4 separate regions of the Homo sapiens genome follow, and regions 1, 2 and 4 are each linked to region 3. The links are contacts of gene promoters, found by promoter capture Hi-C in blood cells and fetal thymus (Javierre and others, 2016). All regions are on one chromosome and are shown on one strand. Each heading gives the region's core, a stretch centred on a gene start or on the middle of the fragment in contact. The rest is flanking DNA. Distances are from core to core; before and after follow the strand shown.

Region 1 (5,884 bases), core at 924-3,423, 220 kb after region 3:
GATGTTCCGCAGCCAAACCAGTTAAATAGAGATTTTAACAAAATTGAAAGCATATTATACTGAGATTTGTGGATTCTGGCCCGGTGAGTGAGTGCTGAAAGTGTGATAAAATAGCAAAATTGCTGCCTAATAATCTATAGAATAATATTGTCAACTAATGGATTATAATAAAATAAAAGCTGTTATTAGGGTAAAACATTATAAAAAAAATCCAACTTTTCTTTGCAGCCCCTCCCCCTTAATGGTTTTGAGCATTTTGAAAGGTAATTTAAACAAGTACATTGTGTCCTTATTGAAGCGGCTTCATCTTGCTAGCTGCTGAAAATGGCTTTAACCATCCCTCTGAACAAAAGCACCCCTAATAAGACAACAAAAAGCCCAAAGCAATGGCCCAGCGGCATCGCGCTCTGGCGCAGAGCGAGCCTGCTAAGGCGGCAGCTTTCTCCTTGCATGTAATTAGATGAATTAAAAGGACAAAGTGGTTAATGTAACTGTTGTCCGGGGGGCCCCCAGCCCTTTTCATCCCATCCATTTCAGACAAGAGCCTGTGGCTTTTGCTTCAGCAATGCGGAGAAGAATGTTGGCGGGGAGGGAAATTAACAAGCTTAATCTATGAGGAATCTGCTCCGTGTCATGGATGAAATGTATCTCGAGCAACGAAAGGCTAGTCATTCCTGCTTCCCTTTTATATGCCTAATAAAACTTACAATAAATTAACTGCATTTTAGTTTGCAGCTAGGCTCTGTTAATCAGGGATGAGGCTTCGGGTAGTCAAGTTACAAGAAGGCTTCAGCGGGTGCATGTCAGCTATGCGGTTGGGCGGGTTGGCCCCACTCTAATTAGCCTGGCTTCCCACGTTGACATTTCAGGTACGGGTTCACTGTTGGGTTTCGCGTCTTCTGTAACGGGGAGTGAGAAGGAAGGTGTATGTTATCCATCCAATTCACCTGACTGAGGGGTACTGGGACCCTTGGAGTGAAATCTCTCCAAGATAAATAGATTCCTTATAGCTCTTCATCTAATTGATATCAGGGTGTTTCCTTGATAACTCTGTGCATTGTTTATTTTCTGTGAGTGCCTCCTACTCTTCATACTGTCCTATTAGGAATGCTGCCACCATGGCAACATCAATTTTTCATGCGGGCCCTTAGTATCATTCTCCGTAGAACTTTGGGATAATGCTTCCATGGGGTTCCTTAACCGAGAAACTCCAGAAAAGGCGGTGACATCAGCAAAAGGGAGCCAACTCCTTCCCCGTCTGCCGTTTTGTACTCTTGGCCTAACGTTGACTCAAAACAGCAACTTGGAGCCTTCCCTGACCTGTTGGTAAAATATGACTTTGTTTTATTATTAAAAAAATAGAAAGTAGAAAATTAAATTCATTAGCTCCAATTACTAAATGATTCATCTGGCTGGCTAATGAAGCTGAGCATTATGCTAACAAGATAAAGGCAAGAATAACATGTGGGGGTGTGCGGCTGCAGGCACGCTGGGCCTGTTCTACTGGAAACGCAAGGCTGAGGAGCTCTGTGCCTTGAGATGGATGGCAAGGTATGGGAGTTGGGGTTGAGAAACAGGAGGCTGTGGGGCTCGGTTTGCTTCCCTGGGGGGCTTGAGGAGGCTGAGTCAGGGACTGGCAACACTTTTGGGTGTTGGGTGAGCCCTGGGCCTTTCTTTTTCTTTCTGTGTATGGGGACCGCTAGTGGAGACTTCAGTGGGAGGCCCGCATCCATGAGCAGAAACGACAGCAGCAGAAACAATCCCCCGGGCCATCCAGGAAGAAGGTTGGGCTTGTGGCTCAAGGCCCCTTTAGCCTCTGGGGTTTCAAGGAACCTTTGGGCTGGAGATATGGAATCAACGGAAGTGGAGGCTGTGGACAGGGTCCCTGTTCCCTATGGTCTCAGCTACTTGCTAAGTCATTGTTAGATCCAGGCTATGGTGGTACCAAGAGCTGGCTTCCTGTGGGAAGAATGGGTCCCTGGAGTCACACTTTTGAGCGCAGGCAGGCCCTGCTGAATACTGCTCACGTGAAAGCATTTCCAGACTCTCCTACTCACTTCTGCTGACCTTGGGTCATTGCTGAAGCTGCCAGCTACTGTCAATCTGATCGCTTACCGTGCTTCATACTGTCTCTAGCCCGCTTCTTTCAATTCTGGCTCCTGCTCTCTGATTCTCCTGGGCACTCATCACCAACTGGCTGCCAGAGCACATGGGCCTCCAGCTGCTGTCTGAATGGCCACAGGATGACTCCATTATTATTCCCACCACCTGGACTGAGTTAGTCTGATCCTCATTCTGTTAAAAACACCCATCAAATAGCAAGAAAAAACCCAGTTTGAAAAGCCCCCTAGGCCAGGTGCGGTGGCTCAAGCCTGTAATCCCAGCACTTTGAGAGGCTGAGGCAGGTGGATCACTTGAGGTCAGGAGTTCAAGTCCCACCTGGGCAACATGGTGAAACCCCGTCTCTACCAAAAATACAAAAATTAGCCAGGTGTGGTGGCATGCTCCTGTAGTCCCAGCTATTCCGGAAGCTGAGGCAGGAGAATAGCTTGAAATCTCCCAGAGGGCAGAGGTTGCAGTGAGCTGAGATCGTGCCTGGGCAGCAGAGTGAGACTCTGTCTCAAAAAAAAAACAAAAACAAAAACAAAAAAGCACCCTATTTGTATGCTGCACAGTGAAAGGAATGTAGGACCTTGAGTTTGAACCCCAGCCTCCTACTACTTCTGGCAAGTAACTTCCCCTTTTCTGGGTTGGTGATAACATAGCTTGCTGATATTGGGTGGTTGTGACTGAGGCTCACAGGAAATGGTATCTGCTCCCAGTGTTAGGTTATGCATCCTTGCTTGCATGGGGGTTCTCTTTCCCATTCTCTAGAACTGTAGAAAAATTGAGCATCTCTTATATCTATCGAGTCTGATCTTCCTAGGAGTTGAGCCCAAGAACTGGGTCAGTGGGTTGTCCCTGCAGAATGTTCCTTAGTGGCTTCCTACACAGTGGACCCAGCACCCGGTGCAGCCAGCCTGTCACCGAGACAGACGGGCAATGCCAAGTGACCCTCACCTAGACTCACAGAGATAAGTCACTACCTCCTCGCCTCTCTGAGGATTCGTGCCTGTTTTACTACTGTTACCATCAGAGTTGTTCTACTCTTAGTCATAATTGTCTCAGCACAATTGGTTGAGCACTTACTATATGCCATGACTTTCCACCTGGCATCCGCCTTTAGGCATTCCTTTATCATCCAACTCCTGCTTCGGGAAAATTTGTTTCTGTCTGTCTCCAAGATACAAAATCAAAAAGGTGTTTTAATCCTGAGGAAGAGTGTGAGTCTGGGAAAATTTTGGATCACCGAGGTGCAGCCATACCTTCCACAGCCATCACTGTTGCTTACAACTCACATGCCAAGAATTGCAAGATGAAGATGGTGATCAGGAGGCATGACTTGGTAATACTGCTGAGGCTGGGAGTCTCTGGGAAATTCTGAGTGTGGGCAATGATTGTGGCAATCTGGTTCCCACAGGCATTAATGATTTTTTCTTTTAACTAAAAGATTAGAATTTGCAAAATTATGTTAAACCAATTAACAAGGGGAATGGATTTAGGACCACATGTAAAATGATACTTTCCCCAATATAGCTTAATAGAAACATGTCATTTGTAGGTGGAAAAAACCTTCATATTCATATCCCCAGGAAGTCAATGGAAAATGAAGGTCGATGGAAAATGAAGTTAATATCTATGTAAAGCTTAAAATTAAAAAGTGAATATTAAAAAGAAACATGAATAATATGCTTCTTTGGAGTTTGGGGTTTTGCTATGGTTGTTGTTGTTGCTGTTGTTTTTCTTTTAGTAACTACTTGGTTAGTGTAAAGCAGAGAGGAGAATTAGGAGAGGCAGATGGCAGAGAGGTCTGCCATGGAAGATTCATGGATGACAGGAGAGGCTGTGTTCCAGAAGGCAAGGTGAACAGGCTTTACACACACAGTTTGGGATGCCTCTGGGTACCACTTGGCAGGGCTGTTAGGAGGGCTGGTCCCAGGCTCCAAGTTCTAAGCAAAGCTTGAGCATTCAGGCCAGGTCTGCAGCCCAGGAAGTTTACACACAAACATATGAGTCAAGAAGAGCTTCAAGGACAGGGTGAGCAGTGGGTCAGGGGGCAGGTAGCCAGGCAAGGGCAAGGCTGACTGGCAGGCGAGCACCAGAAAGGGAGGCATCCAGACTCCTTGACCTTCTTGACGTATGTCTGTGACCCTCGTTCCAGGAAGAAGAGCCCAAGGACCGTAGCAAGGCCCTGATTCTGGGAGACGAGAGAACACGCTGACTTAGAATGCTTGTCTCTGCATCCTGGTCAGAAAGTAGATGGACGACACTTTCATCTCCGACTGGATTTTGGTGAGAGATGGGCAAACCCCGGGCTCTAGGCTGGAGCAGCAGCTCTTGTATCCACACAAAATCAGGACTGGTGGAGGGAGCCATCTTCAAACATAAATTTGGTGAGTTTAACAATCAGAGATTTGAAAAACACAGAAATGAACATTTCTGATCAATGACACTGCTGATCTGATGCATCATAACAGAAACCAGTCATCAAGGTACAACAAACTGTTCCAAACCACTGAGAAATGGCTTGTCTGTGGGCTCCCAGTTCAAATGCTCACAAACCTGGGAGGCTGGTTGATCAGGGTTGGGAGGGAGGGTCTAGCCATAGCTCAGCAGCTTCCCTAAGGTTGTTGTGCATGTCCCTAGCTGGCTTAGTTTGGGCTGATGTCTTTTACGTGTAGTTCTAGATGGTTTGAACATATTGGCTGTTTCTCGTTTTCTTCTGTTTAAGCGTCTTTTGGCAATGCACTCCTTGGGTTTGGAAGCTTCCCTCCAAGATGCTGAGCCCAATGTTTGGGGAAAGCCAGGGAAACAGATGCTGGGTCAGTGCTGCTCCCACCTCCTCTGCTCCCCTCCTGAGGGCTCCACTGAGTCACCAGCCAGCAAACAGCCCATGCGCCCTGGAGCAGATGGACTGTGGGTACACGAGCCTCTGAACTCTTGGGCAGCATGGGCACAACATCCTTTTGGCCTCACCCAATGACCTGGCTGTAAGTATATCACTTGTGTCCCAGAGGGAGCTTGGGTACCAGGTGGTCATGACTCTGTTCTTTCATTGTCCCTGGGTGAATAGGGTGAGGAAATGGCCCTTGCTGTCCCCAGTGCCTGCAGTGCTTGGTCCCTTACTCTTCTCCAGTCTTTGCTCAGTTGTCAGCTCAATAGCAACCCTCCCTGCCACCCATGTCTTCTTTTTCTCTGTGAAGTTATCACCAACTGGTGCACTGTATGTTCTACCTTCTGTCTCTTCTCTCTAGAATGCAGTCTCCATGAGGGCAGGGCTTTTGGTCTGGCTCATTCATGGCTGTTTTCCTAACACCTAGAGCAGTCTGGCACACAGCACATCAGTAATGAAGATCCAGGCAATGAACTCATAAATGGCCTTGAGGAGAATTTGGTTGTAAGAGGCCTGGGTGGCGCTGTGTTAAGGCCCCAACCCATCCTTCAACAGAAAGTGCCCTTGGCCATTTTCAGCATTCATATTTGCTGTGGGGACTCTGGGGCCTGGCATGTCCCTCTTCTCCTCTCACATGCCTGTCCTGTGGATCGCCATGGGCTACTTTGCGAATGGGCAAGAAAGTCATAAAGCACTCATTAAAGCAAGAGAGGGAATTGGTCAGCCCACCCAATCCAGACTGGCTCAGCTGACCCCTAATTTATCAATTTCATTCATGCAGCAAGTATTGAGTGGGGTGGTGTGCTGGACATGGGGGTGTAATAATGAGTGGAGATCCACTGGCTCACCCTTCCACAGTGGAGCTAGATGCTGATAAAAATAACCATGGAA
Region 2 (5,474 bases), core at 1,481-3,980, 140 kb after region 3:
AGAGAAGCAGAGGGAGATGTGACACAGAGAGGGGAAGGTAATGGAAGAGATGGAAACAGAGATTGGGATGATGTGGCCAAAAGCCAAAACATGCTGGCAGCCACCAGAATCTGGAAGAAGCAATAAATGGATTCTCTAAAGCCTTTGGTGGGGCACAGCCCTGTCCACACCTTGATTTTGGCCTTCTGTCCTCTAGTACTCTGAGATGATAAATTTCCCTTGTTTTAAGCCACTCAGTTTGTGGTAATTTATCACAACAGCCACAGGACACCAGCACAGATGCCTCAGGGGAAGGTCCTCTTCCATAAGTGGGGCAAGCAAGCACTTGAGGACAGACAGGAGGTTCTGCAGTTGTGCCTCCTGGCCAGGAGGGCAAGGGGGCCTGGGATCCTGGTGTGCAGCAGGCATCCTGATACACGTGGAATTTTACAGTGGTGTTACTTGGAGCATCGGCTGTGGGGTATGCTGCATTCCAGTCCTTGAGGAAGGGGGTGTCATCCAGGTGTGGGTGCCCAGGGAGGGGAGCACACTCCGGAGCTTGAGTAGGGGTCTAACATGGCTCAGCACAAGGCAGGACTGAAGCTGTGGCTGAGGTTTTACGTCCCCTCAGCTGGAGGAACTGGACAGACGGGTGACTCCCTCTCACCCCACTGGGTGAAAAGAACATATTAAAAAACCACAAAAATATATAACTATCTCTCAGTGAGCAACTTCTTATGCAGAAAGGATTTTCCCCTGTCAAAGAAATTTTCTCAAAGATCTGTTCACTACTATTTTTATAAATCTTATTCTTTTACACAATAGCCTTAATACTTTGGAATAAATTTTTGGGTTAAGAGGTAGGTTGTTTCCATTGTGTTAGTTGTAAGTGCTACTTTTTCATATTTGGATAGTAATTCTAATTCATAGCACAATGGAGTTTAGAGTTCAGAATAGGATGTATTTCTTGATTGATTTTTTGTTAATATCTATTGGGTGCTCGATATGTGTTATGAGGATGAAATGAGAGACTGTGGCCTAAAAGAGACAAAAAGCTTGCCCAAGTCACCTAGCGGTGGTGGCACCAGGCCGTGAGTGCAGCCATCTGACTTCGGAGTTTAGTTCTTCACGCCCACGCTTTTGGAAGCCAAGGATGAGACCTGCATCTGGTTCTGCGGGGTTTTATTGGGAGATCTAGTTGTGCCCGCTGCAGATGGCACTCCCCACCCCCACAGGGCCTCATCCCAGGCCCAACCACATCTTCCTTCTGTACAGCGGGCATGGCACCTGCGCCCTTGGGGAGTGTCCACTGTTTTGTTGAATTGCTACTGGGAGTTGAAGAGGCTTTGGAGCATTCGTGCTAAATGGGATCCCTTTGAAAGGCATCTCTAAGTATAAGCAGAAATCAAGTTTGGCAGAAGTGATTCACAGACATCCCAGGCACAAAGCACATTCTCCTATAAGGAGAATGTTAATTTGTTCTAGAAGCACAGCAATTAAAGGGCAATGTCCATCAAGTGGTCATATTGGTTTGTAGCAGTTATGTCAAAATCCATAGCAAACCCCAATCTGCATTTTCAGAGTAGAGAGATGTGTCCTGTTGTTTGGAGGAAGCCTGCTACAGCTGGGCCTTAAGGCCTGTATTAGTCCATTCTCATGCTGCTGATAAAGGCATGCCCAAGACTGGGTAATTTATAAAGAAAAAGAGGTTTAATGGACTCACAGTTCCACATGGCTGGGGAGACCTCACAATCATGGTGGAAGGTGAAAGGCACTTCTTACCTGGAGGCAGACAAGAGAGAATGAGAGAGCCAAGAGAAAAGGGAAACCCGTTATAAAACCATCAGCTCTTGTGAGACTTATTCGCTACCAGGAGAAGAGCTTGGGGGAAACCACCCCTGTGATTCAATTATCTCCCAGTGGGTCCCTCCCACAATACATGGGAATTATGGGAGCTACAATTCAAGATTTGGGTGGGAATACAGCCAAACCATATCACAGCCATAACACACCATGCCCCAGCCTCTGCCCCAGTGCCTTTGCTCCACAGCCAGCTCCTGATCAGGGAGAGTTACTGTTGTCTTGCAAGTGTATGTCACAGCAGCAGGTTGGGCCTGTAGGCCAAAGCAGCTCCCAACAGAGCATACTGGGTTTTGCATTCTTCTTAGAGCACTAGATGGAGTATGGCTGTGTTTATATGAACTGCGAATCCTGACCAGGTCTTGGTGTGATGAGGTATGATGGAGGCCATAGGGCCCTGTGGTGGAGGGCTGTGTAGCAGGGAGGGCATGAGTCAGACAGCTGGGTAGGTCCTGGCTGTGTGAGCCAGGGTGGGTGTCTTCACTGCTCTGTGCTGCAGCTTCTACATTAGAAAATGAGGAAAATCGCCTATCTATTTCACAGGGTTGTTGAGGAGGTTAAGGATGAAACATGCAGTGTCTGGAGTGGAGTCTGGCCTTGGGGGTGCTATTCCAGAGGCATGGCTGCTCACCCCCCTTTTTTTTTGTGAGACAGAGTCTTGCTCTGTCAGCCAGACTGGAGTGCAGTGTCATGATCTCGGCTCACTGCAACCTCTGCCTCCCAGGCTCAAGCAATTCTCCTGCCTCAGCCTCCTGAGTAGCTGGGATTACAGGCGTGTGCCACCATGCCCAGCTAATTTTTGTATTTTCAGTAGAGATTGGGGTGGGGGGAGGTCTCACCATGTTGGCCAGGCTGGTCTTGAACTCCTGACCTCAGATAATCTGCCCGCCTTGGCCTCCCAAAGTGCTGGGATTACAGGCGTGAGCCACTGCGCCTGGCCTGCTCCTCTTAACGTTGTGGAAAAAGTGGTGCTCGAGGAGTCCAGGCACCTGGGAAACAATGTTCTTGCCACTCACCGAGGCCTTCTCTGAGCCTTGGTCTCCTCATCTGTGAACTGTGGAAGGTAATGAGGCCTAGCCTGAGGGGTGATTAGGAAGATTAAATGGGACACTTTGTGGGAAAGCACCAGGCTCCTATAACTCCTAGATCTTTAGGTGCCACTGAAGCCCATTGGTGTCATCTACCTGGTTAGTCGCAGACTCCGGACTGCTCTGCGTGTCATGTGGTTCTGGCTGCTGTAGGGCAGGGAAGAGAGATGTGTCAGACTTTGTTCCTGTCCCCAAGAAATGTCCCCACATAGTGTTGACAGACTTAACTGCATGCCTGATTAAATTTGAGTTTCAGATACTCGATGAATAATTTTCAGTAATTAGTATCCAAATACTGTATGGGACATACTTAAACTAAAAATTATTTACTGTGTATCTGGATTAAAATTTGACTCACTGTCCTGAATTTTTATTTGCGAAATCTGGCATCCCAATGGCCCCTCATCCTATGTAAAAATGCCCAACTTGAGGTCTCTGTCCATTGGTTTGGGGAGTCCCTCTGAGATTGCTGTTACCCAGATTCTGACTTTGCTCCATCTTTTCTTTGGTCACGGGACCCTGGGAGAGTTCTCCCTTCCTTCTGTCCTGTGCCTCAGTTTCTTCCTCTGTACTGGCTTATTGCTCAAAGGTCCTTTCTGTTTCCCTTTCTCTCACTTCAGAGTTGGTGGAACACATCTGGCCAATCTGGCATTTTGGTATTGTGTAGACAAAATGACCCACTGGCTTGATTGCATCTTTAACTTTTCAAATGCTTGTTTTGGCTTCATGTAGACACAATCCAAATGCCTCTGACCTGCCCTTTCAGTCCCAATTCTCAGCACTTGTAAGGAAAAGTCTCTTTGTAACTCTGCCCAATTCCCCCAGCTGTGTCTCTAAAGGGCATTTTGAAGCCCTTTTAATTTCCAATCCATTATAAAAATAAATCTTTGGAGGGTTTGCTTCCTACATAGCAGCATGCTTTTTGGCTTGACAGCTGTCAAACTGAGAAACATTCCATGAATTCTCCACGTAATTTAAAAGTTGCTCGGACTGAAATACGGGGTGATGTCTGCTCAGCTGAAAGGGTGCCATTTGTACGTGGGTAATTCAATTCACTTGATTTTTTTTTTTTCAGGGAATTACTTTCATAAGGAAAAGAAGAAGGAGTACATTTTACTCAATTATGAAATTGGTGTTCTGATCCAACTTGTGACTCTATTTCTAATCGGTTCTACCTTTCACTGCGCCTCTGGGAGGGGCAGTCTCTTCAACCATCACTTGTTCTTTGGCAATAATTACTTTTGGATGAGAACAGCAAGTCCATTTTGGGGGTTGTGTTCTGTGACATATATGTCTCTATATAAAATCCTTTTAGAATCTAAGCCTCTCACTCACATATGAGTTTCTTTCTCTTCAGAGATTAAAATACTGCAGCCACCATTTGTTTTGAGCAAACACAGTACTGTGAAGTCCTGTAATAGCTCGTTGGGGATTCTAAGCCACAGATTTTCTTATTAATCTTGCTAACACCTAAGAAGGTATGGGCGCCTCCCAAATGCATAAGCTTTATGCTCATTTGCTTTAATCCCTCAACATTTACCCTGCTGCTCCAGTCACGGCTCTGCCAGCTTCATTTGGCTCCTTCCTTCCCTCCCTTTCTTATCTGTCTCTTTTCCCTTCTTTCTTTTTTTCCTCCATGGATTTGCACTTTTTAGTCTCAATAAAAGGACTCGATGTCTGCCATTGGAAAACCTTACTTTCATTTCTTCCCCCAGAAAAATGAAACAGGTTTCTTTTAACTAGTGGAAGGCTCTCCTCTCTAAAAGGTTTTTATTATTGAGTGCCCGGGGTCCTTAGTTTCTGACATTTATCTTCCAGCTAAGCAGGAACAAAAGAGGGAGGCAGCCTTCTGCACCCCGAGTTTCTGAGTAATCACCCAGCGGTTAAATTGAAGCAGCCGCAACATCTTCTTCATTGTGTCACTTTGGGCTTCCTTGTTAATTTATGAGCCTCAACTGTCAAAATAGTTTGTGCAACGGATCCTAAAAACGGTGATGGGTCGTGTCAATCAATCGGGTTTTATAGCCCCGGTTTCCCTCGCGGCAGGCCTGCCTTCTGTATACAGCATGTTAAAAAGAAAACCACTATACCATAGACGTGCTCAAAATGAGTACATCACGCCCAACAATGCATCCCTTCATGTATGGCTCCAGGATGCTTAATGCGCCATCAGTGCTCCACCTCTGAGGCCCTTGTGATGACAGCTGGAAGCTGTTGAGCCTGTTGTGGGGGTGTCCCCCTGCCAGGGCATCCCACTATTTCAAGTGTCCCATCTCCATGATTGGAACTCAATGGTCTCAAGATGGCACCATCAGAGGCCTTCGGACAAGCATGCGGTGATGAGCAATGGTTGGGGCAAAATACCCCTCCAATGAGACAAAAATTTTCCTTAATCTTTGTGATTATAGAATCTAAATAGAGGCTGGGCATGGTGGCTCACGCCTGTAATCCCAGCACTTTGGGAGGCTGAGGCGGGTGGATCACTTGAGGTCAGGCATTCGAGACCAGCCTGGCTAACATGGTGAAACCCCATCTCTACTAAAAATA
Region 3 (5,126 bases), core at 1,606-4,105:
GCGGTTTCTCCAGCGGAACCTGCAGGCTTGGTTCAGAGGCTGTCCCATAGAGGGCGCTGTCTGCCTGACTTTGAATGGAGTCGTGAGCGCAAGAACGCTGGCAACACCTCTCGCCAGACGGCGAGTAAAGGGCTGAGTCCGCGCCCAGACCCGACTCCCACCAGCTTTCTCGAAGGGGAAGGGAAAGATCTACTCAATACATCCCGCTTTTCAAGCCCAGCAATCCCTAAAACTGAGAGGATGGGCTGAGAGTGCTGACACTGGAGAAGCTCCTCTCCCGGGCCAAACACAAGCACATAACAGCGCCCCTGCGCGCCCCTGGGAGGGGAGTCAACCGGAGAACTTGGGGCGACAACCGGAAAGCCGGGATCCGGTAGCCGCACAGCAGGGATGCGGGCGGCTGTCCCGGACTCTTCTCCCGCCACACTGGGCCTGTCCCCTCCCCATCTGAGTCTAGCGCTGGAGTTGTGATCAGCCACGAGTCCCCCTCCCCAGACTGAACCCTCAGCATTCCCAGTTTAAAGTCGACTTTCGTGCGTCAGAACTCTAGCCAAGTTTGCATGCGTCTGCGCTGAATGGCGAAGCTCCCAAAACACACAGGCATACACGCCGGGGTCTCTCCACGCATACTCGGCCGCGTGGCAGGCTGTGTGCAGGCGGTGCCCACCCAACCCTCATAGACCTACGTGCATCGAGCTATTTCTGCGGTTGGGGGAAAATGACCTCTGGGTATCCAGCAGCGATTGGGCGACCTAGGCCCAGTTTCCTCCTCTCTGGGCGCGGGTTTCCACTTACAAAATCCAAGTATGAGACCCACCCTGCTGGGGTCTCAGGGCAGTGATCCGTTCCAACCCAGATTTTGGATGGCGTAGCGTTTTGCATTCCAGTAAAGCCCTGTGTAAACTCAAGGGAGTAATAACAGTAATTGTTTATGGAAGCGCCATTTACGTTTCCAGATTTCCAAAGCAAAAATGGGGTTCGCTGCTGTAGATGAATGCAGAAAGAAACATTACATATGCCCGTCGAGATTTGGTGGGGGAGGGTCTGACGCCCCAGGACCGAAAAACAAAATCTACCTCTCAAGTGGGGACCCCACACGATCACGTCTGCCAATGCAGGGCGGCCTTGAATTAGGCGAGGCTCAATCTAACGAAAAAGAAAGCGGTGGGGAGGTGAAGGGATCCCAAAAAGCCCTCGTGTGCGGGAGCTTCACCAGGGTGGAAGAGGGTGAGGCCAGTTTGTCACCTTTCTCTGATAAGAAAGCTGTCTCTCGGGAGGGGACCTCACAAACAATTCTGATTTACTTGATGCTTAAATCATGAGTCTTAAATGTCTGCCTCATGGGCTTCTCGTGCGAACCGGGGAGCTGTTTTTAAAGCCAGTGGAGTGGAATGTCCTTTCACTAAGCCGTTCTGCAAAGGTCCAGTGTGGTTCTCTAAGGACTTCGCTGCCGTCGAGACGCGCAGCGGATGCCGCTGCTTGCCGCGGCGGAGGAAGCTACGCCGCTGCGCCTTCGGTTCACCTTGCCCCCATTAAAGCGTTAGTTAGACAGCTCCAAACGCCAGCTGGCCGGAGAGACTTCCTGGGAGAAAGTGCTGTCGTCGGGGTCACAGACTCGGAGTTGATCCGCGAGCCTTGGGCACCGGCGGCCAGAGCAGAGGGGTGCCCTTCCGAGAGCAGCCGTCGGTGCCGAGAAGCTGTTGCCCCAGCAGCCCCACCGAGTGACGCGCGGGTTTTGGCCGGGTCAGCGCGCATACGCACACAGGCACACCCACTCCTGGTCCCGGGGGAAGGCTCACTCTTCGGTTTTCCAGGGCTAAAGGCCAAGGCCACGCGGATTTCTGAGTCCGAAGACGCAGTGCGAGGACTTACACCTGGATTCCCTTACTATCGGCTGGATGGTGGGTGGGGAACCCAAATCCCTCTCTTCTTGGCCTCGCCCTTCCTAGCAGGCTTTAGGAAAAATACCGAGGTCGCCGGACCCCAAAGGGTAGGAAAATGATGAGTTCTCCGAGGGCCGAGGTCACGTCCTGCCTCTTGGGCCGGCGCTGCGTGGCTCTCCAGCTGCGTGGGGGCGGCGGGCCCCTGTCCAGCCCCAGGGGGCGGGGGAGCGGCAGCTGCGAGCGCAGATAACCCCGAGGTGACCCGGGAGGGCCTGGTCCGCCCCTCCCCCCTCCCGCAGGCCTGGCGGCGGGAAGCGGGTCCCTGCGCCGCAGGGGGGAGAGGCAGGCGCGGTCTCCGGGCTCGCGGCCGTTAGTGCGCTTCGGCCAAGGGCGCCGCCTGCTCCGCGTCCCTCGCTCGCCTCCTGCGCTCGCAGGAGCGCTCCGAGTGCCTCTTTAGCGGGAGCCAATATCCTTTTGTGCTAATAGGCTTGTCCTCATTTGCTGCCTAATTGGACTATATAAAGCCAATAACGGGCGGGCTCTTATAGCCCGAAGCCAAAGCGCCAAAATCCGAGGGAAGGCGAGGAGGGGGCGGTGGCGGAGGCGGCTGCGGGGCCGGGGCTCGGCTGAGCCTTCGCCTGCCTAATCCCATTTGCCATTGTACGCGCCCAATCGCCGTATACTCCCCGCATTTAACTTGGATGACATTTTGATTTCATCATTAGCATCCGGCGCCGGATTGACGCAGCCTCGAGCCGGGGACTGCTCTTGCTGCCTCCTCCGCGGGAGCCGCAGCCGCAGCCGAGCCGCCTCGATCCCTCGGTGCCGCGGCAGGGCCGCTCCCCGCCCCTCCGCACCCCTCCCTCATGCGAGCCCGCCCGTCTGGGTCCTCACTCCGCCCTCCCGCCGTTGGATTTGCGCCCGGGGCGGCCCCCGACTTTGCGCCCCGTAGTTGAGTTCCGTTTATGGTCTGATTTCCGGCCTCTCGCCTGCTCGCCCCGCCGCCCGCCTGTCCCGCTCCCTCCCTCCCGGGGACCCGGAGGAGAGGGGACCATGCCGGAACCCGGGCCGGACGCTGCCGGCACCGCCAGCGCACAGCCCCAACCGCCGCCGCCCCCCCCACCCGCTCCCAAGGAGTCCCCGTTCTCCATCAAGAACCTGCTCAACGGAGACCACCACCGGCCGCCCCCTAAGCCTCAGCCGCCCCCACGGACGCTCTTCGCGCCAGCCTCGGCTGCCGCCGCCGCCGCCGCTGCCGCTGCCGCGGCGGCCAAGGGGGCCCTGGAGGGCGCCGCGGGCTTCGCGCTCTCGCAGGTGGGCGACCTGGCTTTCCCTCGCTTTGAGATCCCGGCGCAGAGGTTTGCCCTGCCCGCGCACTACCTGGAGCGCTCCCCAGCCTGGTGGTACCCCTACACCCTGACCCCCGCCGGCGGCCACCTCCCGCGACCTGAAGGTACCGACCTCTCTTTGAACTTTCGTTGTCCCCCTGCGCGCCCGCCCCGTCCCCGCCCCGCGCTGCTTCCCTCCGCAGTTCTGGGACCCCAGCACCCGCAAACCCTCTGCTCGGTCAGTTTTTTTCGGCCCCTAGCCTGCCCTCGCGCTGGGTTGCGCTGCCCGTTAATCCAATCCCACTTGGTGAGAAAAGAAGTGGAATTGGAGCCCCGGGCACGGTGCTTCCCGGGAAAAGTGGCCTCGGGCGTGAATAGGGAGGCTTCGGACGGCCGGGGCTTGGGACACGGCCTGGAAGGAGGGGGTGATTCCAATGCGCCTAAGCCGAAAGGGAACCGTTCTGCCGGCCCCTGGCGAGGAAGCTGAGGGAATGGAAGGAGGTGGCCGCGCTACCACCATCTGCTTGCCTGTCCTCGGGAGGAGGGGGATCCCAGGACTCGGCGTCCCTTCTCTGGCCCAGCCGAGAAGGAGGCAGCCCGCGGGAATGGTGAGGCCTCATGGCCTGGGACCTGGAGGCCGGCGCGGGTTGAGCCTGCCGTCCCCAGGCGCCGGGCCTCGCTCAAGGCTGTGTCGGTGTGCATGTGTGTGCGTCCGTCTGTCTGTCTCCCCAGCCTCGGAGAAGGCCTTGCTGAGAGACTCCTCCCCCGCCTCCGGCACAGACCGCGACTCTCCGGAGCCACTGCTCAAGGCCGACCCCGATCACAAGGAGCTGGACTCCAAGAGCCCGGACGAGATCATTCTGGAGGAGAGCGACTCCGAGGAAAGCAAAAAGGAAGGCGAAGCGGCGCCAGGCGCGGCCGGGGCGAGCGTAGGGGCGGCGGCGGCCACTCCGGGCGCAGAAGACTGGAAGAAGGGCGCTGAAAGTCCAGAGAAGAAGCCGGCGTGCCGCAAGAAGAAGACGCGCACAGTCTTCTCGCGCAGCCAGGTCTTCCAGCTCGAGTCCACCTTCGACATGAAGCGCTATCTGAGCAGCTCGGAGCGAGCCGGCCTGGCCGCGTCCCTGCACCTCACCGAGACGCAGGTCAAGATCTGGTTCCAGAACCGCCGCAACAAGTGGAAGCGGCAGCTGGCGGCGGAGCTGGAGGCGGCCAACCTGAGCCATGCCGCGGCGCAGCGCATCGTGCGGGTGCCCATCCTCTACCACGAGAACTCGGCGGCCGAGGGCGCGGCGGCTGCAGCCGCGGGGGCCCCGGTGCCAGTCAGCCAGCCGCTGCTCACCTTCCCGCACCCCGTCTACTACTCGCACCCGGTGGTCTCTTCCGTGCCGCTGCTACGGCCGGTCTGAGGCCCCAGAGGGGTGGGGGAGGGAGCGCCCGGCCTCCTTGTCCGGACCCCGGAGGAGACTGGGCCGGGCCGAGGGCGCCGAGAAGTCCAGCGGCCTTCAGGAACTGGGGCTTGGGCGCGCAGCCTCTGCTTCCCCTCCCCCAGTCGGTAGCATTTTGTAAGTATTTGCAATGCATTTTCGTGCAATTCATCCCTAATGGATTGGAGGCGCTTCCCCTCTTACTTTTGGTTTTTGGCTTATATTAAGAGAAAGCAGGAACAAGACAAAATTTTCGGGTCAGAGATTTCGGCCGATAGTTTTTGTAAAATGTGCAGCCCTCCCTTCCAAATTTCCATTGCGCGGTGGCTTTTTGGTTTTATTTTTATAGAAGGAAAATAAGCGCAAAACCTAAATCCCTCTAGTTTATTCTTTTCTGCTTTTTTTTTTTTTTCCGAGACGGAATCTTGCTCTATCTATTGCCCAGGCTGGAGTGCAGTGGCGCGATCTCGGCTCACTTCGACCTCCGCCTC
Region 4 (5,849 bases), core at 2,304-4,803, 170 kb after region 3:
TTGTTTCTGCAGAAAAATCTCAGTTTGGGTTCTGTTCCTGGTCATTTAGCAAAGGTCCTCAATTTGATCCATTGTCTTTTATGACAAAGAGGTCGAGGGGTTATGTGACTAGCCGAATGCAAGTCTGCTGGGAGCCTTGGTTTTCTGCTTATGCAACAGTGTCAAAACCACTTTTAAAAATGCCATCCCATGGAAATCACCAACAGGAGGAGCTTATTGCCAGAAATCTTAATTTGATTACTAGTAGGGATTTTACTTACGATTGTGAAGTTAAAACAGAACTGCCCCCTCTTTTTGGGAGGGATTTTTCCCATCCTCTTCCATATTCAAGATTGGTTAAAAAATCTCTGCCCAAAATTGATCTGAGCAGGGCTCAAGAAATGAAGACGATCTCTGGCTAATAGCAGGTGCATTTTAATCACAAGGCCTATTTGATCATGTATGGCTTCCCTGTGCCTTACAAAGACAGAGTTTTAAAAGTGTGTAACATTAGAATATGCAAAGCCTCGGCCATTCCACCCTGCCCCATGAAGACTTACACGATCCCAATGCTTAAAATATGGAGAGAGGAACAATTAACATTATGTTTCCAGTGCGTATGGTGGCCCTAAGTAGCTTATGGGCTCTGTGTCCACCTAGAAGCAATAAAGTCATGTTATTATGCATTAAATAAAAGAAACATCTTAATCATTATATATGAAGATCTCTTTTCCAGTGGTCGGCAGAACGAGGGGTAAAACCGGCTTTTCTTTCCCTTCACAGCTCACTTGAGACCGGGAGAACAGGCAGAGAAGCCTGGAAATCCGGATGGCTTCTAATTGTCTCTTTACAGCCAACTAGGCTACCAAAATGATTGTCTTTTTCTCTCCAAGCCTTACTGACCTGTGGCTAATGAGATTTGTGCTTCGATTAGTTGTAGAACATAAATTAGCTAATCAATGGCAATGGATTCACATTATTTCTCATACATGAGTTCCGCTGCAGTGATCTGTATTTAATATTCAAATCAATTTCGAATGCTCAGGATGATTCCGTTAACGTGGCATGCTGGAAGCTGGCAGCATCTGTAGCCTCCTGGCCGATGAGGACTAGGCCAAGCCTGGATGATACACCTGCCTCTCATCGGCTTCCAGAGCTTTGCAGATTGCCTTGCCTTCCATTACACAGGGTGAGGGGCAAATGGGGTTCAGCAGAAAGCTTGTGGAAAAAGCAAAAGAAAATCCAGGAGCACGTACAGCAGAGGTGGCCTCTTTCCTGAACAGGAAATCAAAAAGCAGGCGAGCTAATTTCAGGTTTCTGATGTGCAAACTTTGCAAAGAGCGAGGTTGTCGGTCAGCGTCTTCACTTTTCAGCACCGAGAAGCATATTTTTGCTCTTTGCTGTAATTGTCTCATCTGTACAATTAACTGGCATCTTGGCATAAAATGTGGAGATTTGTACAGTCTTCTAGGCATCTGTGGGCTTTATGGTACAAGTTCTGTTAGTACTGAAGCCACAGAAAATTAAATGTTCCCCAAAGAACTTCCAGATGTGCTTTATTCTAATAGGGTCATTATACAGTAAATTAAAAAGCAGGGTAAATGGAACTGTAAAATTTAAATTACTCTAAAACCACATCTCTTTGCTTTGAGCATTCATTTGTGGGGTTGCATTTGCAATAAATGTGAATTAGGCAGCTGCAATAACTGTTAATCATATATTTATAAAATAGTAATGAGGAAATGAATAGCAGAGTAAGACAGCTGCACATTTCTCTAATAGTGTGTCAACTGTGAGCATAATAAGATGTGGAACACTGTTTGGTGCTGGGCTGATAATACAGCTGAATGTAAGAGATCGCTTCAGCCTCTTAACTTTACATGAAATTTCACATAAAATCCATAAAAGCTCATAATAATGCATTATGCCTCTGAATTGTATTCAATATTTTTCTTTGCTTTGATTTTCTGAAATGAGCTCTACTTTCACCAAAGTCATCTTCCGGAGATCGGTGAGCCTTTTGTTTCAGGCAATCTCGGGCTTCTAAGATTGCAACTGGATTTAAAGAAACCAGCGCCAATGCAGGCAAGGAGTGGATGGTGGTGCTTTGTTTTGTTTTCTCTGGGTTGCTGTACATGGCCAGAGGGATGCTTTGTCTTGGGCAGAGGACACGGTCTATACAGGCCATCTCAGCTGCCTCCCGATGTCAGGATTCTGGAGAGAGTCCACTCACTGTCGACCAGAGTCCCTAGACTGCCAGTTTGGCCTGATGGGAGCAGGCACATCACCTTCAGCCACTTCCAAACATCTAGGTGGGCCGAGGCTGGGTGCTCAGGGAGGACCTAGGAAAGGTGGTGTGAATCTCAAGGACAAGTGTCTGGGAAGGACGGTTTTCCTTCCTGCATGCATGCCGAGATGACTCCAGGCTTTCTTAGGACTGGTGATGGTGCCTGCTGGTTTGGTGATGATTATGTCTGAGTTCGAGAGGAGGATGACAACTGATTCAGTCTTAGCAAGGCGAGGAATGGGGACAGCTCTTCTGTGGAGCTCTGGAAGCTTGGAAGCCTCCTGGCCTCATCTAGCCTGGTTTTCGGATAAACCCCTCTGTAGTGCCTATTGAAACTGAGGCTTTGGGATACATTTCCTTCTGTGCGTCATGGGAATAGGGGAGGGGACACTGAGGTGGAGTGTTCATGTGGAGGGCTGGTCCTGGGACAATCTCATCATGTCCCTCCACTGCATAGCATTGCTGGGAGCAAGCAGATGTTCTTTACAGTGTCATTCAGAGCTCTGCAGGAGCTGGCCCAATCACCTCTCCTTCCACAACTCACATTAAACATAGGGTCCTAGATAAGCCATGGTCTTGAATTTGGTAGCTTTGAGTCTTCTGTTTTCTTGGTCTGGAATATTCCTCCCTGCTTGCAAACTGCAGTCGTTCTTGGGCTTCCCCTATGTGAAGCTTTCCCAGACTCTTGGGCACCTTTTCTTACTCCCTATGTGCTATGTGTGCATCCCCATTACAACAGTCTTATTGCATCTTGGGGGTTCTAGAATCTAGCGCCAGCTACTCCTCAGGCTGAGGGCTCCGTAAGCGCGTCTGAATTTTGGTGCTTGATACATCTTGTTTTGCAGAATGAGTGCATGATTGCAGTCACCAGATGTTGGTATAAGTTCAGAGAAAATGACCTGGAAGAGTTCGACTTAAACTTTGTTGCTATTTCTAAGACTAGGATAGGTCCACCTTTCCTAAGGGCAGCCTCCTGCTCTTGGGATGGAAGGAAGTTGTCTGCTAGGGACTGGAGAAGGAGCAATTCTAATGGAAAGTTGCCCCGAGATGCTTAATGTGGGATGTCTCAAAATAGAGAGTTTGTAGCTGCACTGCCCTTCACACAAGACTCTGGGAGGACCCTCAGTGAAGGCAGTGTGCTAGGGGGAAGCTGGAGCTCATTACTGTAGTTTTCCTGAGAAGAAGGGAGAGAGGGAGGAAGAGGGGGGAGAAGGGGAGGCCAGAAGAGGGAGCGAGAAAGGGAGAGAAGAGAAATAAGAGGAAGAAGAGGAAGAAAAAGGAGGAGGAGGAGGAGGGGGAGACTGTTGTATACACATACACTGAACACTCTGTGATCTCCTAAAACTAAGTTCACTTCCCAATAGTTCAGTATTGAATTTTTTTTTAGTATTGAATTTTTTAACCAACTTTTTTTAAAATTACAAAAGTACTATATGGTCATTATAGAAAATGTGGAAAGTAGAGAAGTACAAAGAAGAAAATAAATGTTCCCCATAACCATCCATACCCAGATATAACTCCCGTTAATATTTATGTGCTTTCATTGTCTTTGTTTTATTTGTATCCATATCCATGAATCCAAATATAATAATACTGTACATCATATTCTGAAATTTTTCATTCACTATATTAAGAACATATTTCATATCATCAAATGTTCTTTTTCATCATAACACATCACTTAATGTGACTCCCTAGAATGTCCAACATAAAGAATTCCATAATTCACTCATTCTCTGATTTTAAAAAATTCCGTAGTTTATCTAACCATTCTTTATATGTTTAATCATTCATTTATTGTCTATTTAACTGTTCTCTATTTATCTAATATTTATGAACATTTTTGATCTTTTAAATAATGTCGTTATTAAAGTTATTAACAACCTTTGCCAATTTCATAAGTAAAGCTTAATTTCAATTTATTTTATTTCTAATAAAGTAGAAATTTTTCCCTGTTTTTTGCTTACTTTTATATAAGTCATATATAAAAATTATCTTATAAGTATATATATTATCTTATATATGTCATATATAAGTATTATATAAGTATTATCTTATATGTGTCATATATAAATATTATCTTATATATGTCATATATAAGTATTATATATAATCATCTCAAAGGAAATATATATTATTTATATATTATATATTATATATGAGAAATATAACATTAAATACGTATGTATATATGTGTATCTGTACACACATAATATATATTATTTATATATAATATATAAGAAAAACATATTTAATATATATACACACATATGTGTTTTCTTTGAGATGTGTGTATATATATATATTTTTTTGACTTAAGTACAGCCATCATTAACTGAGGGAACAGTGCCAGCACTGAGTGTTTTATGGGATGCGTTATTTCATTTAGACCTCACATTCACCCCATGAGTAGCCACTATGCTCCACATTTAGTGGGGGCTTCTGAGGCTTGGCGAGGTTGAGGACACTACCATGAGGTGCTCTGGTGAAGCATGTTGTACTGGAATGCCTGTTTCATCATTTTTCTACTTAGGTGCTGGCAGCTTTCTTTTTATTTTATTGGAGTTGTTTAATTTATTGGAATTGTCTGCATATTAAGTATTTAATTCATTGTCTTTGTACATATACCATAGAGTTTTAAGTGGAAGCTGTAGTGTCCCAGTGTTTCCCACAAAGAAGGAGAAAAGGCAAGCAACTCATTGCTTTCTCCATTTTGAGTTTGTTGGGTGGCTTACCTGCTTGTAGCCCTACTTCCCAGATTCTTTCCCTTCATCATCTCATGGTGTCTTCGCCATGTGCAAGGTGGGTGGAGTGACATTTACTCATTCGTTTGAGGAGACTGAAGCCTGCCCAGTGTCAGAGAGTTGGCGGGCAAGCCAATTAAAACACAACAACAACAAACAAAACCTTGGTTGAGGGTTTTGTTTTTTGGTTGTTGTTTTTTAAATCGGCTTGCCTGCCATGAGCAACAAGAACCAACCGAATCAAACCAAACTGGACAAAAACATCTCCAATGGTGAGTCAGTTGGTTTGAATTGGGGATAGGGCTGCCAGATAAAATACAGAATGCCCATTTAGAGTTAATTTCAGATAAACAACCAATACTAAAATGACTAAAAACAGCAAAAAATACTTTTGAACAGTCCCAGGCAATATTTGGGACATACTTACACTTAAAATTTTTTTGTCATTGCTTATCTGGGACCCTTGTATTTTTATGTGCTTGAGCTTACAGCCCTAAGTGGGGAAAGCCTGCTATGACTGAGAACGGAGTCAGAGGGACCGAAAGAGGAAAGACGAGCTGACTGGCCGAGTTCACTTTGTTTTTAAACTTTGCTCTCATTCTTTTTCATCCGGTTTGGGTACACTGAGTAATGCGAGGCTGAAGGCCTGGAACCTGACTGCCTCTGTTTGGATGCATGAGTGTGGGGTGTGGGTGGTGGTGGGAGGCCTTGCATTTCTGGAGCTGCCTAATGCTTCCTCATTCTTCTGGGTGTGGGGCCAGCAGTGGGAGGGATTGGTTACAACAGAAGCCAAGATATTATATGGTCTTCCTTTTAAATAACAGAACATACAAAATCCT

Evidence for each region. Contacts are between HindIII fragments. The CHiCAGO score rates a contact against its expected background, and 5 or more counts as called.
Region 1: a fragment that was not itself captured here is called in contact with the fragment with the promoter of HMX3 in region 3 in 4 of 17 cell types (M0 macrophages, M2 macrophages, naive CD4 T cells and 1 more); the score reaches 7.5 in M0 macrophages.
Region 2: a fragment that was not itself captured here is called in contact with the fragment with the promoter of HMX3 in region 3 in 1 of 17 cell types (naive CD4 T cells); the score reaches 5.8 in naive CD4 T cells.
Region 4: a contact is called between a fragment that was not itself captured here and the fragment with the promoter of HMX3 in region 3, in 2 of 17 cell types (M2 macrophages and naive CD4 T cells). The highest score is 5.2, in M2 macrophages.

The regions. Positions count from the first base shown.
Region 1 is chr10:123,357,058-123,362,941 of GRCh38, forward strand. It overlaps LINC02641 (long intergenic non-protein coding RNA 2641), which reads left to right. Exons shown (of 12, transcript XR_007062326.1): 3 at 1-1,551; 4 at 3,227-3,445; 5 at 3,851-3,962; 6 at 4,262-5,090. Among named protein-coding and RNA genes, the nearest start is that of LINC02641, 12 kb to the left of the region's middle. The HindIII fragment of the contact is 3,142 bases long and covers 603-3,744 here.
Region 2 is chr10:123,276,400-123,281,873 of GRCh38, forward strand. No RefSeq gene overlaps it. Among named protein-coding and RNA genes, the nearest start is that of LINC02641, 69 kb to the right of the region's middle. The HindIII fragment of the contact is 3,397 bases long and covers 1,033-4,429 here.
Region 3 is chr10:123,133,115-123,138,240 of GRCh38, forward strand. It overlaps HMX3 (H6 family homeobox 3), which reads left to right and starts at 2,856. Exons shown (of 2, transcript NM_001105574.2): 1 at 2,856-3,336; 2 at 3,944-5,126. The coding sequence starts at 2,937. The coding sequence ends at 4,617. RefSeq lists enhancers at 1-193, 2,071-3,021, 4,204-5,126 and silencers at 2,025-2,144, 2,175-2,304, 2,685-2,764, 2,815-3,224, 3,235-3,284 and 1 more. The HindIII fragment of the contact is 8,924 bases long and covers 1-5,126 here.
Region 4 is chr10:123,304,268-123,310,116 of GRCh38, forward strand. No RefSeq gene overlaps it. Among named protein-coding and RNA genes, the nearest start is that of LINC02641, 41 kb to the right of the region's middle. The HindIII fragment of the contact is 1,235 bases long and covers 2,937-4,171 here.